Regions from separate parts of the Homo sapiens genome. Here regions 1 and 2 are each linked to region 3. Evidence: promoter capture Hi-C in 16 types of primary human blood cells and fetal thymus (Javierre and others, 2016). All regions are on one chromosome and are shown on one strand. Each heading gives the region's core, a stretch centred on a gene start or on the middle of the fragment in contact. The rest is flanking DNA. Distances are from core to core; before and after follow the strand shown. Region 1 has its middle 34 kb from the start of FPR3. Region 2 overlaps SIGLEC5 (sialic acid binding Ig like lectin 5). Region 3 holds the start of HAS1 (hyaluronan synthase 1).

Region 1 (3,611 bases), core at 389-2,888, 100 kb before region 3:
TGTTGTCCTTGATAAGAGTAGTCCCACTGCAGTAATCAGGACATGAACCCATTTAGAATGAGTTCTGGAGAAAATGTGAAATGAGGAAGTAGAGAAAGAAACTGGAAGTGACCCTTGAGTTTGCTGTCAAGGAGAGCAGAGAAATTTGTTGTAAAGTTCAGGAGGACGCGTGTGGTACAAAAGGTTTTTATGTTTTCAGTTAGTAGATTAGAGAACAGATGTATATGCTGATGGCAAAAACACAAAAAGAAAATGGCATGATAAAGTAGACAGAGAGACTATTTTCATTTCTTCCACTCAATTTCTACTAATTTATATTAGTTAATGCTTCATCTTTCCTCTGTTTTTTTTTTTTTTTTTAAACACTAGAAGCATATGCTATGTCAGTCAGGTTTCCACCAGATAAATAGGACTCAAAATGGATCACAGACCTAAATGTAAAAGACAAAATTATAAAACTCCTAGAAGATAACAGGAGAAAATCTAGATGACCTTGGGTTTGGCACCCTGTTGTTTTGACTTTACAAATTGTTACTAAAAACATCTGGGGGTGAGCTCCATTTGCACTGGCCTTGTGGGCAGTTGTTTCCCTTTTGAAGGTGCCCCACTTGACCTCTGAGTGGCTAGTGGGGACAAGGAGTGATAGCAGGAAGGAATGCAGCAACCAAGGAGGCACTGGCCTCAGCAGCACTTGCTCTTGAAAATTGCCAAGGGGACTTGTGCAGTTGCCATATTACAGGTTAGGCTTAGGTGACTTGATCCTTTCATCCTGGCTCTCCTTTATCAACACACTGAAGCCCAGCATTTTATCATCTTTTCTGACTTCACTATGAGGGAATTGCTGCTACCCAGGAGCCTGGTATCCTGTGGCTCTCTCATCAGTGAGATGTGTAGGAGATCGGTCAGGATGGTGGGAAAAGTTGTAAGATAAATTATAGGAAAAGGATGCAAACCTTCTTGGAAGGCCTGGGATTTGCATAGCTTCAGAAGAGGATTTGGCTGAAGGCAGCTGAATTTTCTCAGAATGGATAACAAGGAAGTGTAAAGGAATTGATCTAGATAAGTTAGTTTACTTAGGCCTCGGAACCTGGTATTTAATCATCTGTGCACAGGACTGCTGTCTTGGGGGGTGGGGGGTGACAATGTTAATTACCCACAAGACGTGTTGACTCCAGGCCTTTGTCATTAAATCTGTACTGAATAAATGCCCACAGTGCCAGCTTGTCGGGGCTGTGGCTACTGACTCTTTACAGCTCCCTCCTCGGTGTCTGTGAGCTGCCCAGTCCCCTAGCCTGCTTTTTCACTGGATATCAGTCTCAGAGTGCATTTTTCATCTGTCATTCGGCCAGGTTGGACCCTGGCAGAGATGGACATAGAGTTTCACCATACTGGCCAGCTCACTCTGGCTGGAGACCAGGACTTTGCAACTTATACCCAGTACAGGCCAGACTACTACCAAGACCCCATGTAACAAGAGCAGCATATATAGCTCAAGGGACAACGTGCCCTCAAGTAGTGGCCTGTCACCAGGGGCCTGATTAGAGAAAGAGTGACTACTGTTCATAGCGAAACATCCTCATTACAATGAAACCTGCCCTCCAGGAGCTGCAGGGGAGCCTGAAGGCTCAGAGAGCTGTCTATATTCACCAGAGTTTCTGGAGAGTCCCCAAGGCAACACCTGACAACAGCAGTACTAAGTTGCACAAAGCAACAAAAAATCTAAAACCAGCAAGCAGTAGTGCTGTCCCAGACCGACCAGGCCTGATACAGGAAGTTAGTGAGCCATCCACATGGACATACATTGGGAAGTATTTCTTTGTGGTAACTGTCCCATAACTTTAAAAAAAAAATCTCAGTTTCCTGAACCCACAATATATCATAATGCAATGGGAATTGAGACTCCACAATGAAAACTCCTAAAGAGGAAAAGAAAAATGGAGAGGATGTAGCAGGCACTGTTCTACTGCAATTAACCAAGGCCAGTGGGAAGGAATAGTAAGAATCCCCTGTCCTGGCAGTGGAGGAAGTCTCTTAATTAGCCCATCTGGAAGCCCTGGCTCTCCTATCTAGGTTTTGTCCTTGTGCCTTTTTATTTTCTTTTTCTTTTTCTTCTCCTTTTTTTTTTTTTGAGATGGAATCTTTCTCTGTCTCCCAGGCTAGAGTGCAGTGGCACATTCTCAGCTCATTGCAACCTTCACCTCCCAGGTTCAAACAATTCTCCTTCCTCAGTCTTCCAAGTAGCTGGGATTATAGGTGCACACCACCATGCCCAGATAATTTTTGTATTTTTAGTACAGACAGCGTTTCAACATGTTGGCCAGGCTGGTCTAGAACTCTTGACCTCAAATGATCCACTCACCTCGGCCTCCCAAAGTGCTGGGATTACTGGAGTCAGCCATCATGCCCAGCCTTGTTCCTTATTTTCTATGGCTACACCTTGGCTGGGCATTTAAGAATATACACCTCCTGGGAACTCTAAAGCATTTATAGGAGTCAAACGTGCAAATGAAATGCGCAAAGTGCTCTGCCTTGGAAATGCAATAACTTTAGGAGAGACAGAAGGGAAAAGGAGAAGAAAATGAGTAAAGCAGTGGGGTGAGTGAGAACACTGATAACAGGATTGCCTGATATTCATGTTGAGTGGTGTCTTTTGCCAGTGCATCAGGAAAGTATGTTCACAATACAGAATTGACAATTTCTGAGTGTTTATGTGCAGAAAGCAAGGTAAAGGGCTGAGTTATGAGTTATTTATTTAAATATGAAGTCTTTAGGCAATGGTTAACCAGAGTAGTTTACTTAAGCAGAAACTCAAAATCAGAAATGTTCATGAAAATGTAAGCCAGCTGGGAATTTACAAATACTGTGGACATGAGGATGGGAATTTACTAGACCTGACCTGATTCATATTATGAGGGCTGGAGATAATTTTGACTGGACATTAAGTGATATTATTGTTTATCAATGCCATAAACATTTATTGAGTGCCTATCACATATCAGACACTATCTTATTTGCAGGGGATTGGGATCCATCAGCAAACAATATAGACCAAAATACCTGCCCTCAGATAGCTTACATTCTCATTACTTGAAAGAAACATATCAAGTACCATACAGTTATTATACTGTCTCATGCCAATAAGTGAAACCACATTTGCAAAAATTTTGACAGTGAGAGAAATCTAACGTGGCTGACTCCTTCCTGCCTCTAGCCTCAAAGGTTATCTGTCTTTGTTCACTCCTGGTTGTAGGCTAAGATAACTGGGGAAGAATTTAGTTTATAGTTTAACATGGAAGCAAGGATGATAGTAGGCCTTCCCTAACTAACACCCTTCTTGCTCTGAGACTGAAAAGTAATGAAAGGCCCTAAGATTAGGATTATTCAAGGAGTCTGAATTCTGCTAAAATGTAGGATTATAGTTTCTATAATCCTTTATTGCCAGACGTCATGTGGCCAGAGACACCTGGGCAGTAAAGACCAAGATTTGTGACTTCCCCAATCACTTCTATAGGTAACACCTCTATTGTAGAACCTAGGATTAGTCTTTTGAGATGTTTTTCAGACTTGCATTCTAGCAACTGACTGACCTTACCAGGGCTCATGACTTATGA
Region 2 (2,959 bases), core at 453-2,952, 110 kb after region 3:
CTCTGGCAGTGTTTCTTGAATGAGGGAAGGGCAGATGCTGGCCTGTGTCAGGCTTACTGAGCCAAAGAAATGACAGGGACGCCGGGCACGGTGGCTCACGCCTATAATCCCAGCACTTTGGGAGGCCGAGGTGGGCAGATCACCTGAGGTCGGGAGTTTGAGGCCAGCCCAACCAACATGGAGAAACTCCGTCTCTACTAAAAATACAAAATTAGCCAGGTGTGGTGGCACATGCCTGTAATCCCAGCTACTCGGGAGGCTGAGGCAGGGGAATCTCTTGAACCTGGGAGGTGGAGGTTGCAGTGAGCCGAGATCATGCCATTGCACTCCAGCCTGGGCAACAACAGTGAAGCATCGTCTCAAAAAAAGAGAAATGACTGGGACAAGCCCCAGGGTGGATCCCCTCAAGAACCCAAACCACACCCAACCAGTCCCACTTCCTATCACCCCAGTAAGGCAGCTTAAGTCATCCCTCCATCTTCAGACCCTCGTGGAGAAGCAACATTGGTCAAGGACTCTCGTTGCATTGTGATCCACCAGCCCTGGGAGTTTGGAGTGGAGAAAATGGCAAGGAGAATGTCAAAGACCAGTGAGCTTCCACCTCCGTTCTCCTTCTCCTCACCCCAGTGGGCCTCTGGTGCTTACCCAACACATGCCTGTTGGACACTGGCACATCATAATCCTGTCCATACTCTGAATTCTGCAGTGAGGGGCAGACAATGTTTGTCCCACTGGAAGGGTAGAGGAGAGAAAGGAGCAGAATTCAAGTATGTTTGGGCTAACCCATCCTCTCAACAAGCCAGCTGTCCCCCCGCCCAGTTCTCCCACCCCTTTTCTTCAAATGAGCCTTAACTTTCCCCTAGGGATATCAGTGTGATTGATTGATCATAAATTGATTTGTAAAGTTTTGTTCACCCAGGAGCTCCATCTTTAGTTCCATCATTGGTAGGTCTTGGAGAACAGAGCCGGTGTATGAATTCACTCTTTTGACAAGAACTATGGTAGAGAGAGCTTTGTTTTCTCCTTTATTTTACCTTTAACCATTCTGCACACTTTCATGCCATAGGCAGAATGGTAAAGCGAGGCACAGCATGGTCCCTGGAGTTTGACGTCCTGCATTCAGGTTCTAGATTCACCCACTTGCAAGCTGTGTGACCTTGGATAAGCTAATGAACCTCTCTGTTTTTTTGTTTTCTCCTATAGAAATTGGGTTATTAATATGCTAGTATCTGTCTCGGATTGTTACAAGGAGTGCTTAGTAAAGTGGCAAGCTCACAGGGAGCTCACTTATAACTGTTACCCAGTATTACTTTTCCTTCTGTCTAACAAGGAACTGCATGACGGGGAGGTATTTGGGTGGTTTCAGTCTGCTTTATGTCCTCATTTATACGAACGGCATCTAGCCCAAAGAAAGCACTCAGCAAAGAGCTATTGAGTGAAAGGGTGAACATACTGCATTGTCCTATTTACTAATCTGAGCTGTGCCTTTTCTTTCAGTTGTCAATTTCACCCTTTTTATTTCATATACCGCACACCTATTGATAGACATATGTCTTTATTTCTTCCTTTGCCTGCATAATGCTGGTGTGCATAGCCACTTTTTCATTTTATTTCATCTTTCTTGTGCCTAATATAAGCAGCTCTCTCCAGAAAGTCTATTTTTTTCTGACACAATGAAGCCATTTTTCCCTAACTGCGGAGTCCTTTTAAAAAAACTGTATGGCCAGGTGTGGTGGCTCACACCTGTAATCCCACCACTCTGGAAGGCTAAGCTGGGCCAGTCGCTTAGCCCAGGAGTTTGAGACCAACCTGGGTAACGTGGCGAAACCCTGTCTTTACAAAAATTAGCTGGGCATGGTGGCTTGTGCCTGTGGTCTCAGCTACTCAGGAAGCTGAGGTGGGAGGATTGCTTGAGCCAGGGACGGGAGGTTGCAGTGAGACGAAATCACACCACTGCCCTCCAGCCTGGATGACAGAGTGAAACTCTGTCTCAAAAAGAAAACTTCTGAGCTACTGTTTGAAGACTCACGTTGCTTTCAACATATTTTCCATAGCGTGATGGGTAGGGATATGGGTGAAGGTGGGAGAGGAAAGAAATTGCTTACTTGTATCTGGTTACCATCTTTGCTGGGGACAGGATCTGCTCCATTTTGTTTCTCTTTCATGGAAACTGGGTCCAGGATCAGAATTGCCATCTCTTTTCTGGTTTGCACATAAGACACCTTGTAACCTATGCCGAAGGTATACATTTGCTTCATCAATAATCCGCTCCTCCTGCCTAGGTCAGGGTCTATGTCTGATTTCTCACACTGTACGTGCCCAGAACCTGAAACAGGGGAGACAGGGCTGAGTTCGAATCCTGGCCTCGCCATGTATTAGATGAATAACCCTGGGCAAGCTACTTAACCTCTCTCCACCTCAGTTTCCCTGTGTGTAAGGTGGGGATAATTAGAATATCTTTTATACTGTTGTGGGTTTTTTTTTGGTGATGATTCAATGTGATTAGTAAGTCCTCAATATGGTCTGATCAATCATAGTATTACAAAATTTTGAAAGAATGAGCGAATAGTTGAGTTCACAGGAAATGTATATGGACAGGTGGGGCCGGGATTTGAACCCAGCCCTGTCTGCCCTGTGCCGGTTCCTGGGCACGTACAGTGTGAGAAATCAGACATAGACCCTGACCTAGGCAGCCTATGGCCTGTCCTTAGGAGGAGTGGATTATAAAAGGATGAATTGATAAATGTCACATCAGCCCAACTTCCCTGTGGGAACCATTTGTTGTATTTTTCTCTTATTTGGTGTTGAGGTCTCTCTTTGGGGAGTGGTCATAAAATCTAGCCCGGCCTTGAATGGGAACCCCAGAGATCTGGCCATCATGTTCACAGTGTGACTTTCACAGAATACTCCTTTATCCTGGCACACCACCTGCTGCCTGAGTGCCCAGCCTGTGACCCCC
Region 3 (3,768 bases), core at 472-2,971:
CAGTGAGCCGAGCTCACGCCACTGCACTCCAGCCTAGGTGAGAGAGTGAGACTCCGTCTCAAAAAAAAAAAAAAAAAAAGAGAGAGATGGGGATGCAGAGAGACGGAAGGAGGATAGAGACAGAGCTAGAGAGGGAGGGAGATAGAGGGAAAAAGAGACAGAGAGAAAGAGACACACACACATGGACACACAGTGAGAAAGTCAGGGAGAGGCACTCAGAAAGAAAGAGAGCCACACAAGAAGAAAGTCAGGGAGACTTCAGAAATGCAAAGGGACAGACACTCCCAGGTAAAAGCAGAGAGAGAATGGCTGTGAGGGGGGATGAGGAGGAGAAACAGACAGGAATACACAGAGGCAGAGACCCAAATAGAGGGACCGAGAAACAGAGATGGGGTGACAGATACAAAATGACAGAGATTTGGGGAGGGACAGACGAGGAGAGAGAAGCACGGGGGAATTTCTCTCTGCTGCTCCATGTCTTTCAGCCTGTCCTGGAGCTGGCCCGTGCCAGACACCAAAGGTCGTTGGAGTCACAGGCAGGGAGAAAAGAACGAGGCAGCTACCGAGGCAGCTACCAAGGCCGAAAGTGAGACATCAATAGTTCACAGTAAGAGGAGCAGAGAGAAGAACAGAATTAGATACAGATAGTTTTTTTAAAAAATTCATGGAAAGAAGGGCATGTAAACAGACATTTATCACAGATCTGGTCCTGAGGGGCTGGGGTTCGGGCACCCCAGGTCCCGCATCTCTTTTCACCCTTCCTCTGACTCAGTTTCCCTGATGGGTGACAGCACTGACAGACCCCGGCTGGCTCCCCAGGGTCAGCTGACCGACAACTCTCTGTGTTCATCCCTGAGTCCCTGGGGATACAAATCCCAGCGCCCCAGCTCTCCACCCCAGACCCTGGTGCACACACGCAGACCCACGTCAGTTAGGCGCTGAATGGACAGATGTTCACTCACAGCTCCGGTTCCAGGCAGCCGTGCCTCGGGCCAGCGTACACACAGGCACACCCACAGCACGCACGTGTGTGAGTTTCGTTCCATCTGCCAGTTGCTGAGACATGTCCCTGGGGGGCCCAACCCAGAGATGGATTCTGGGGACAGGAGAGGCGGCTGTGGGGAGAAGCAGGGCGGGGGTGACTGGGGAAGGTGAGAAGGGGGAGGTGGGGAGAGCTTTAAAGCAAGAAGAGAAAGAAATGAGGGTGAGAGGAGGCAAGAGAAGTGGAGAGGAAGAAAGGGATGGAGAGAAAGACAGAAACTTGGAGAAATGTGGTAATGGGGAGAGAGATGAGGGTACCAACAAAGAGATGAGGAGAAATAGTGGGTTAGGGAGAAAGAAAGGGATGGAGGGAAATACAGGGATAGGGGATGGGGGGATGAGGGGAACCCCCAAAATGCAAGTGAGGTGGAAGAGAAAAATCAGGGGAGACAAGGGACGAGAGGGGGGAGGAAGAGAGAAGAAGACATAGAGGAGGGAGGGAGAGGAGGGGGAGTGATGGCAGAGAGGACTAGAGGAGGGGCGCGGGTAGACATGGGGGCCTGGGAAGGGAGGCCCGTCTGGCTGAGGGGGGTGGGAGTAATAGCGGGAAGCGGGTGGAGCTGCCCGGCTGGGCCGTGACCTCAGAGCCCCTGGCCCAGCTTAGCCTGACTGACGTCAGCGCTCGCTCCCGCCCCCGCCTGCGCTGGTCTTCAAATGACCCCCCTCCAGCTCTCTGGCCACAGAGAGGCTGGGAGAGCAAGCCGGAGAGAAGAGAGAGCCCGGCCAGACCCACTGCGATGAGACAGGTGTGTGTGTGTGTGTGTGTGTGTGTGTGTGTGTGTGTGTATACAGCCATGTGGGGAAAACTACTGCCATATGTGTGACCACGTGTGTTGGGGAACTGTGTGTGCATGATTTCATGTGTGTATCCATGTGCCTGACAGTGACCATATGTGTGTAGGGGACAGTGAGCATGTGAGGCTGAGTGTGCAGGTCTGTGTATACATTGCCCTGTGTGAGCGGCCATCCCAAGTACATGTAGGTGAGACGTGCCATGTCCGTATTTCTGTATCTGCGTATCTTGCTACAAACTTGTGTATGTCTATGTTCCCTGGGAGGCAGAGAGAAAGAGGGAGTGCGACAGTGAGCGAATGAAAGAGACTGAGTGAGAAAGAGAGTTGGATTTGCCTGTGGCACATGGGAATGGATTTCTGTTTCATGCGTTCAATAGCTATTAAGTTGAACCAAATGAAATCGCCGATACTGAGCCACTCTAAACTTGGAAGAATAGCAATTTCATCTGGTTCAGTATCAGCTTGACAGTCACCTACTATTTCTCTTGAAATCTTCCCTGTGCATCCCATTGCCCCAGACTCTCAGTTGGGGCTCTGTGTGTTTGTGGCCACGTGGACATCCTTTGCTGGTGTTGCTTTTTCCTGCTGAGGGGTGTGTGTCTGCAGGTTCACCTGTGTGGCCGTCGGTGGGGGTCACGGGATCGCTGTGTTTGGCCTGAGTGGGTGTCTCGGGTCATCCTGTAGAACACGAGTAATTTCATTCTGTGTGTCACTCATCATGTGTGAGTTCACGTGTGGGGGAGTGTGTCTACACGTGTGTTCATCTGTGTTTCTGGAATCAACTCTCTGGATCCCCAGCATGAATTGAGCCATCCCTAGGAACTCAGGCAAGGCCAGGTTTGAAGCAAAGGAAGAGAGAAGGGGGATTCGAGAAGAAAGAATAATGTTTAATGTTGAGAGTTTAAAAGCTGTACCTCAGTTTTGTCCTCTAGAAATGTAACGAAAACCACAATATCTAATTTAAAATTTTCTTGTGGCCACATTTGAAAAAGTAAAAACAAACAGGTGAAATTAATTTTAATAATATATTTTTATTTAACCCAGTGTGTCAGGGGCCAGCACATTTTTTTAAATAAAGGGCCCAATATTAAATATTTGAGGCTTTTGGGGGCCATCTGGTCTCTTTTGAAAGTACTCAACTTCGATGTGGTAAATGTAGAATCAGCCACAGATGATGTATAAACAAATGAATGTGGTTGTATGCAAATAAAACTTCCTTTAAGGACACTGAAATTTGAATTTCATATTTTTCATGCTCCACAAACTATTATTCTTCTTTTGGCTTTCAAAAACCATCTAAAAACACACACACAAATTCTTAGCCTGCAGGCTGCAGCAGGTCTTAGCATGCCGACCCCTGCTACATATAAGATATGATCATTTCAATATGTAATCAATACATAAATGTTAATGAGCTATTTTACTTTCTTTTCCCCAGACTTGGCCTTCAAAATCCAGTGTGTTCATAGCACTTCTCACTTAGATGCTACCTTTTCACTGGAAATACCTAATCTGTGTTTAGATTTTATAAGATTTACAATTATAAAAGGGGCATCGTAGATGCAACTTGTTCCAGACATATTTAAAATCTTTCCAATAACCGAATCAAGTAAGAGTTTTTAAATTTAAATGAATTAAAATTAAATAAAATTTAAAACTCAGTTCCTCGGTGATACTGGCTGCATTTCAAGTACTCGGTAGACACATGTGGCTGCTGACACCTGTGTTGGACACAAAGATCTACATCTTAACGACGCATTTAAATAACCCACAGTAAGCCTTGAGGCAGGAACTGGTGGCATAGGAGGCAGTTTAGCGTAGAGGGGACGCCAGAGCCAGACTGCCTGAGTTTTACTTCTGACTCTGCTTATTACCTGAGTGACCTTGGGTAAAAGTATTTGCCTCTCAGTGTCTCAGTTTCCTCATCTGTAAC

What was found. The method cuts DNA at HindIII sites, captures the fragments that hold promoters and counts their contacts. A CHiCAGO score of 5 or more calls a contact.
Region 1: a fragment that was not itself captured here is called in contact with the fragment with the promoter of HAS1 in region 3 in 1 of 17 cell types (monocytes); the score reaches 7.9 in monocytes.
Region 2: a contact is called between a fragment that was not itself captured here and the fragment with the promoter of HAS1 in region 3, in 2 of 17 cell types (neutrophils and monocytes). The highest score is 6.2, in neutrophils.

The regions. Positions count from the first base shown.
Region 1 is chr19:51,826,885-51,830,495 of GRCh38, reverse strand. It overlaps a transcript of ZNF577 not described here. Among named protein-coding and RNA genes, the nearest start is that of FPR3, 34 kb to the right of the region's middle. The HindIII fragment of the contact is 6,940 bases long and covers 1-3,611 here.
Region 2 is chr19:51,613,196-51,616,154 of GRCh38, reverse strand. The region is part of intron 8 of SIGLEC5 (sialic acid binding Ig like lectin 5); the gene reads left to right. It overlaps LOC124904753 (a long non-coding RNA gene), which reads right to left. Exons shown (of 3, transcript XR_007067313.1): 2 at 2,106-2,326; 3 at 439-731. Among named protein-coding and RNA genes, the nearest start is that of SIGLEC5, 16 kb to the left of the region's middle. RefSeq lists a silencer at 339-488. The HindIII fragment of the contact is 7,305 bases long and covers 1-2,959 here.
Region 3 is chr19:51,721,944-51,725,711 of GRCh38, reverse strand. It overlaps HAS1 (hyaluronan synthase 1), which reads left to right and starts at 1,721. Exons shown (of 5, transcript NM_001297436.2): 1 at 1,721-1,787. The coding sequence starts at 1,779. The HindIII fragment of the contact is 33,518 bases long and covers 1-3,768 here.